Linked DNA regions of Homo sapiens: region 2 is linked to region 1. The links are contacts of gene promoters, found by promoter capture Hi-C in human tissues and cell types (Jung and others, 2019). All regions are on one chromosome and are shown on one strand. Each heading gives the region's core, a stretch centred on a gene start or on the middle of the fragment in contact. The rest is flanking DNA. Distances are from core to core; before and after follow the strand shown.

The links. The method cuts DNA at HindIII sites, captures the fragments that hold promoters and counts their contacts. A contact is called where the count stands out against the background at its distance.
Region 2: a contact is called between a fragment that was not itself captured here and the fragment with the promoter of BMP3 in region 1, in 2 of the 25 tissues and cell types used here (H1 embryonic stem cells and spleen).

What each region holds. Positions count from the first base shown.
Region 1 is chr4:81,028,846-81,033,057 of GRCh38, forward strand. It overlaps BMP3 (bone morphogenetic protein 3), which reads left to right and starts at 1,863. Exons shown (of 3, transcript NM_001201.5): 1 at 1,863-2,755. The coding sequence starts at 2,440. The HindIII fragment of the contact is 7,363 bases long and covers 1-4,197 here.
Region 2 is chr4:80,490,585-80,494,796 of GRCh38, forward strand. The region is part of intron 2 of CFAP299 (cilia and flagella associated protein 299); the gene reads left to right. LOC105377305 (a long non-coding RNA gene) reads right to left here and starts at 966. Exons shown (of 3, transcript XR_938931.3): 1 at 887-966; 2 at 374-431. The HindIII fragment of the contact is 7,546 bases long and covers 1-4,212 here.

The DNA of each region.
Region 1 (4,212 bases), core at 613-3,112:
AGAGAGAGTTTCCAGGGCCTATTGAATTTTGCAATTAGATCTTCATTATTAATCACAAAAGCTATTATGTTCTTTATGCCAAGCAAAGATCAAACACATGATCTCATTTAATCCTCACAACTACTCTTGAAATATGTGTTATTATCTGCAGAACAGTTCCCGGGGTGGCTAAGGGCAAAATCCAAACCGCAGTGGGTTAAGAAGTGACTGAGTGGGGAGAATGTAGTCTGGATTTGGGATAAATTTAGGATAGAAAGGGATTGAGCCCCTATTAAAGGCTAGTGAGTGCGCCAGTCACTTTAGCACTGCTTTCTAATGTCATCCAAACAAAACTCTAAAAGGAATGTGTTGTTATTCACCATCAAAGAAGAAACTCAGATCTGGAGACATGGTGTGACTCCAGGAGCCTATCTTCTTTTCGATCAACTCCATTGCCCTACAGAGGGGAAGAGGGATAAATGCAATAGACATTGACTGAAGATTTTACTGCATATGGTCAAGAACTGCACTAAACATTTACATGGATTGCACACTGAAACTTCAGTTTAAATGCTAATTTCACTATTAATAGTGTGGTTATCTGGCCTGAGGCCAGAAATCAGACTCCCTGAATTTGGATCTCAGTTCTGTCACTTACTATGTATCCTTTTGCCTCAGTTTCCTCATCTGTAAAATGGGTTTTGCTGTGAAAATTATTTGGTAATATACTTGAAATATAAATAACAAGGCATGTCTAGAGCATAAGTGTGGAGAAAAATGTTAGCTCACAGTTGTTTTTTGTTTGTTTGTTTGTTTTTTGTTTTGAGACAAAGTTTGCTCTGTCACCCAGTCTGGAGTGCAGTGGCACAATCTCGGCTCACTGCAACCTCCATCTCCTGGATTCAAGCCATTCTCTTGCCGCAGCCTTCCCAGTAGCTGGGATTACATGTGCGCACCACCACGCCCAGCTAATTTTTGTATTTTTAGTAGAGATGAGGTTTCACCATGTTGGCAAGGCTGGTCTCGAACTCCTGACTTCGTGATCCACCCGCTTTGGCCTTCCAAAGTGCTGGGATTACAGGCCTGAGCCACTGCGCCAGGCTGCTCATAGTTTAATCTCCATTGTACAGCCATGACAAGAGAGAATTAGGAAGACAAAGCTAGCGACTCTTACATTCTGTTCCGGACTCCGGGATCTTCCACACACCCTTGTTTTTAGCCACCACTGCACCATCCTGCTGGGAAACCTTTTGGGGACCTGTAGGAAGGAAACCTTTGGGGGAAGCTGTAGGTGGGGTTGTGGTGTGTTTGCTTGTTTTCTTATTTGTTTTTAACATGATATTGACTCGCACATATTTCTCACCTCGAGAGAAGATGATGCGGGAGAGAGGGGCGTTATGATGGGTATGCTCTCAGAAAGACAGGAAGCTATGATGACGGGCTGCAGGTGCAGGGGCCCGCAGTGTCCGTCAGAAGAGGCTCGGGAAAGTAAGCGAGAATGGTGTTCACGTTGTGACTTTGTTTGGAATCATAAGACCGAAAAGCCAGGAAGAAGTTCTGTTTTCCTCTGCCCTCTTGCTAGCCACCACACAGCCACTGTTCTTGGAGAATTAAAAAAAAAAACAAACAAAAACAAAACAAAACAAAACAAAAAAACCGTCCCTCCTACCATTTCTTTAGTCCTGAATCTCCTTTTCCCTTCCTCTCCCCAGCCATCCCCACCCCTACTTCCTCTTCTCTCCCTCCCGCTGCCAGTTCTCTGGTTACTCCCCCCCTCCCTTGCTTCTATCCCAGCCTGGTGCAAGCTAAGAGGGCGAGGACGAGGGAGTGGGAGAGATTGGCTGAGGACTCTACAGATCAGCTAGAGAGCGAAAGAACTAAGTCTCTCTCTCTCATACACACACACACACGCACACACGCGCGCGCGCGCGCGCACACACACACACACGTACACTAAAAAACTCGGACCAGCCGCGCCGCAGCTGCTCCAATCCCTGGAAAAGGCAATCGAGCGCCCTCCGGACCGCTGCGCACAGCCCCGGCTCCGACCTGGCGCCCAAAACAGAGCTAGTCCTAGTCCCTCGCGCGGCCAGTTTGGCCGGGTGTTCCCAAAAATAAAGCGAGGAGGGAAGGTACAGACAGATCTTGAAAACACCCGGGCCACACACGCCGCGACCTACAGCTCTTTCTCAGCGTTGGAGTGGAGACGGCGCCCGCAGCGCCCTGCGCGGGTGAGGTCCGCGCAGCTGCTGGGGAAGAGCCCACCTGTCAGGCTGCGCTGGGTCAGCGCAGCAAGTGGGGCTGGCCGCTATCTCGCTGCACCCGGCCGCGTCCCGGGCTCCGTGCGCCCTCGCCCCAGCTGGTTTGGAGTTCAACCCTCGGCTCCGCCGCCGGCTCCTTGCGCCTTCGGAGTGTCCCGCAGCGACGCCGGGAGCCGACGCGCCGCGCGGGTACCTAGCCATGGCTGGGGCGAGCAGGCTGCTCTTTCTGTGGCTGGGCTGCTTCTGCGTGAGCCTGGCGCAGGGAGAGAGACCGAAGCCACCTTTCCCGGAGCTCCGCAAAGCTGTGCCAGGTGACCGCACGGCAGGTGGTGGCCCGGACTCCGAGCTGCAGCCGCAAGACAAGGTCTCTGAACACATGCTGCGGCTCTATGACAGGTACAGCACGGTCCAGGCGGCCCGGACACCGGGCTCCCTGGAGGGAGGCTCGCAGCCCTGGCGCCCTCGGCTCCTGCGCGAAGGCAACACGGTTCGCAGCTTTCGGGCGGCAGCAGCAGGTGAGTGCGCGAGGTGAGACTCCCTTCCCGCGGTCCCGCCCCAGCTTTCTCCCGGGACCCCCCACAGCTTCCTTGTCTGCCCCTTGCTTGGTGGCGCTGCCTAGGGACCTTTCTCCGCCCTCCTCAGCTGCCCTCTGGATTCCTCCGTCCAGTCACACCCCGCGTGTCGCCAGCTGCATCTCCTGTAAGCCCAGTTTTCAAATCCAAAGTGAGAGGGGGAAATAGAATGAAGGCGCGGAGCAGTGGAGGGGTAGGCTGGAGGAGCTTCGTGGAAAAAGGGAAGGGGCGACACCCCATGCCTGTGAGGCCTCCTGCCCTGAGTGACTGGAGCACCTCTAGGGTACCTTATTCTGTTGATTCCTAAATCGGCCAGCGGAAATTCCTTTGGACTGGGCTTTAGCCATGTTTACTAAGAGGCAGATGCCATTTTATGCCAATGCCAGGACCCGAGAGAAATCATACTTGAATAAGACGCCTTCCCCTCTCCTTTTCTCCTTCCCCAGTCGCTTCTCCAGATATTGCACCCGCTCCTAATTCGCGCCCTTTGTGTTACTGTACTATATTTGACACTTTACTTGATAGTTCCTTAGTGGCAAAAAAAAAAAAAAAAAAAAAAAAAACAGGTGCTTGGGTGTTTCGATTATTAAAACGCATCTGGGTAAACAGGGGTTGTACCATCCATCCTGGGAGGAGCTGGGAGACAAGGGGAGGGAGCAACCCTGGATGTAAACACCTCTTGGAATCTGCCCAAGAAAATCTGCTCATCCCATTTTTCAGCACAGATCACTTCGGACTGAAATTCATGGCTTAACAAGGTTTCTCCTAGCCCCTGTGGTGAAGGGAATAACTTATGCTAACAGCCTCCCTCCCTTGTGTTAACAGCTTGAGGGAAAGCTTCCTGGACACTAACTCTGTTTTTATGCTTTGAGGATTCACCAGGCTTTTTTGTTCACTACATTCATGATAAGGGGAAATGTAACTGCAAAGCCTGTCTTCAGTGAACAGTTGAACAATAGCCAAGAATCTTCAAGAAAATGAGGCCATGCCTCAGTCAATACTGTCAGAATCACTAGAAAGAAATCTCCCAAAGTTTTGATATGCAAGACTCCTGGAAAAAGGGAAAACTAAGGCATTCATCAAGGAAAGCCCTGCATTGTCTGTGTAAATATATTCTAGAGCTTACAGGCATGATGACATTTACAATAGATGTGAATTATGCTTCCTAATACAGAAGTCTTTAGCTAGAGACTGAACTGAACCAGATTTTACTTTCTTCTTAAAACCATGAGCATGATCTGTGAGGAGAGCGCCACCAGTAAGGAAAAAGAAACCTGCTCTGTGTTATCCACAGTATCCTAGCCATTGGAGGAGGCTGTCCTGACAGCTGACTACACCAGTGAATACTCTGTTTACTTTAGTGCAACTCTAGGGGCATAACTCAGTGAGTAACTCATGTG
Region 2 (4,212 bases), core at 553-3,052, 540 kb before region 1:
TCCTATTATTATTCTTGTAGAAATAGTATAACTTACATATTCTTACAGAAATAGTATAACTTACATTCTTAACATTTAACAAGCTTTCATGGATATAATTTTTTTCACTTAAAGTTTAAATCACTTTACAAAACACATATATTTGGCTTTTTAAAAATCCCACAGTTTGAAATTCAATGCATTAAGTAGTGAATAAGTATGAGACTTAAGCTATTATAACAATTCAATAACTCAGTAAAATTTTTCTGCAGAAGGGATTACTGTCTTTTCAAAGACATAATTCACCTATTACTTTTTATTGTATAAATTTTGATTTCTACAGTATTTCTTGGAACAGGATTATGTGTGTGTGTGATTAATCCATCTTACTTACCTCTCCATTTTAGGAAAGACAAAAATTAGTTTCAACAGTGCTCAAGTAGTTTGTCATTCTGCTTGAAAAAAAATGAACATTTTACATTTGCCAAAAGTAAAAATATTCTAACACAAAATGCTTTAATATGTTTAAAATATAGATATCATTCAGCTTGAATCAAAATTATTAAACTGTAATAAAAATAACTGTAATATGCTTTTCAGAAAAGACCCACATTTTATGTAATGATTATTTTACTAAGCAAGACTTTTAAAACATTATAAGGATAGTTTTATCGTTTAAAAATAGAATTAATATAGATTAAACACCAGATTTTCTATAAGTTTTAAATGTTCATAAAATAAAGGTAGTAAATTAAACTTAGAATTCTGAATGCCAGTTGATAAAAACATTTCAGCAATAGTGTTTTTTTCAGGCTTTTAAAAAAATTATTTTCTGGAAAATATGTAAGAGCAACGTATATACATATATATCCAAATACAATTGTCCACATTCATAAATAGGACTTACAGATAATATAGCCGATTTCTTTCTCTATTTAAAGGAATTTTTTGTTGTATTCAGATAAACACAATATTACCCAGCTCTGGTAACTTTGGGAAACTTTCACTTTCTGTTCTCACCAAATGGTTTAGGTTAATGTTGAGGACTAAACTCTGATTTTTTTTTTCTTGCCCAAATTCCTATCTAAGGGGTCTGGGGAGTCATGCCCTATAAATCAGAAATTCTCATCAGATGGGTTTTATTTAACCATATATATCATGATTTACTTTCCAGACTGACTCTGGCCATAACATTATGAGACAAAAAGGAAAATCAAAATATTTTACCCCAAAACATGTTTCTTTGCCATATTTTGAAATGGCCCTGCAAAGCTGTTCTTTCTGAGAGAAAATCTGCTTCTGTAAAGAATCTCTATTAACATAGCTAAATCTTCTTCTTCCAGACCCTTCCAATCCTAAAGAGATTAACTAAGATCTGAATAGGAAACTTTTGTCACCTATTGTCTCTAAGGGCAGCCACTATAAGACTTCAAAAGAACTTTGGTCTCCACAATCTGTATCTTATTTTACCTTAATCTTTATCTTAACCGTTTTTGTCTATCCAGATCTTTAGACAAACTCAACCAATTGTCAACCAGAAAATATTTAAATTCACCTATAGCCTGGAAGCCTCCCGACTTTGAGTTGTTCCACCTTTCTGGGCCAAACCAATGCATTTCTTAAATGTATTTGAGTGATGTCTCATGCCTCTCTAACGTCTATAAAACCAAGCTGTGCCCCGACCACCTTGGGCACGTGTTCTCAGGACGGACTTCCTGAGGGCTATGTCATGGGCCATGGTCACTTATATTTGGCTCAGAATAAATCTCTTCAGATATTTTACAGATTTCGACTCTTTTCATCAACAATGTCTTTGTCAATGCACTGTCAGAATTAATGATAGGAATGTTTGTGAGAGTAAATAAACATATGATGGCTCATCATGATAAGCTAGCAGTTTTGAGGATCCAGGTAAAATAGATGGGACTAACAGGAGTTTAAAAGCAGAGTTTTTATGTAAGAGAAAATATAGGGACTTGGGAAGTGTATGGAGTCAGAGAAATGCAACTTGGTATAGTATGATACATAATTATTTAATAACACTAGAATTTTCAAGACACATTTTCATGCATCTAAAATGTCTGTTTAAAATACAGGTTTTATTATTATTAAGGTATGGTGAGGCCAACAGATCATGAGACATTCACCATTGAAAAGATGACTTGTTGCTTACAGTTCCTAGGAGGAAGGGTTTTCTCCTGGGCAAAGGCCTTTATCATGGTTTCTACAGGAAAGGCAAAGCAAGACTGAGTAAGCAGGCTTAGGATTGGCTAGTTTGAATAATTTCAGCAGGCCCTGGGGTGATGGAGACTGTGGGATGGTGGCCTGGAGTGTGAGAGCTCAGTGAGAGCCCGATAAAGGAGGCTGTTAGGAGGGTTGTGGCCTTTTAGTGGCTTGGTTTGCATATACAAAGTACACAGTCAGGTGAGTTATCTCCTATCTCCAGGAAGTGGTTAGCCCTAGGAGGGGCAGCCTCTGTAGAGTCAACAAGACTCCAGACACTGAAGCATCAGAACAAAAAGACATGCTTGACACAGTCTTTTGCCAATCATTAAGGTGTATAAGGTGTATATAATAGTTATAGTTATCCTCTTTAACTGCACATATTATGCATTCCCATTGTTATAAATAAAGTTTCAGTGCCACAAAAGAAATAGCACTTGAATATAAAACTTTCTTTTAATTATCAGCAAGGCAAGGTACTTCTGTAGAAGGGTGCACACTCACCGATGGTGGGTGCACATTTGGACAAGGGAGAGGAAGGGATTCTTATCCCTGATGCACGTGGCCCCTGCTACTGTGTCATTCCCCTATTGGCTAGGGTTAGATCTCACAGGCTAAACAAATTCCAATTGGCTAATTTAAAGATGATGGGATGAGTGCTTTGGCGGAGTCAGGGCAGAGCAGATAGCAGGTAATTGGAATGAGTTAGGGTGGAGCAGGTGATCAGAATGAGTTAGAGTAGAGCAGGTGATAGGAAAGAGTCAGGGTGGAGTAGGTAATCGAAAAAGGTTGCTTTATGAGGAAGTTAAGTTTAAAAGTAGAAGGCAAAGAATTGATCATACTGACATATTAATTCTTTGAAGAGCATTTAGAATTCATATTCAATACCATAGCTACAGACTACTCAAACGCTAGTGACTTAAATTTATATCTAGCTCTTCTGGGATATCTGTCTCTTTTCTATCTCATATTCTTTTTTTTTTTTTTTTTTTTTTTTTTTGAGACGGAGTCTCGCTCTGTCGCCCAGGCCAGACTGCGGACTGCAGTGGCGCAATCTCGGCTCACTACAAGCTCCGCTTCCCGGGTTCACGCCATTCTCCTGCCTCAGCCTCCCGAGTAGCTGGGACTACAGGCGCCCGCCACCACGCCCGGCTAATTTTTTGTATTTTTAGTAGAGACGGGGTTTCACCTTGTTAGCCAGGATGGTCTCGATCTCCTGACCTCATGATCCACCCGCCTCGGCCTCCCAAAGTGCTGGGATTACAGGCGTGAGCCACCGCGCCTGGCCTCTATCTCATATTCTTGAAGTTAGCAGAGTGAATCCCACCTCCATGCTCTTCTTCCTGTTCTTCCCATCTCAGCATTTCTGAATCAGCTGGTTCCTGTCCAAAAGAGACCCTAGATTCCTTTCTTTGTCACATATCTCACATTTAACATATCAGCAAGTCCTATTGGTTCTACCTTCAAAATGTATCTCAAGCTCTTCCCATTATCCTCACTATCTTCCCACCAGCTCTTCGCACTATCCTAGACCAACTCACTGTCAAAGTATGTTAACTATTCCCATTTTTAGCTCTCCTAGATTATTTCACATAATAGGCAGTATACATTTCTTTAAACAACATATATCTGACAAGTTAACTTCCTTGCTTAAAACCTTTTCTTGGCTTCCTGTTATATGTAAATATCTAAAGTCTTTGCACCAGTTATATTAGACTCTAGATGATCTGACAGTTGCCTAATTTTCCTTCTGTCTCACAGCATTTGGTTCTTGCTCACAACCCTCTGGCCACCCTAGCCTCCTTTCAGTTCTTCATACCCAGAGTGTGTTCCAATTTTAACTATGATTTCTTTTCCCTCTACTTAGATTGTTCTGTGGCACGTTCTATAGGTATGGCTCCTCATCCTCCCCATCTCAGCTTAAATATAATTTTATGTTGAGTAGTAAATGTCAATTATGTTGGGTACATTAATATGTTATCCATTTATTTTATAAATATTGAGTATTTA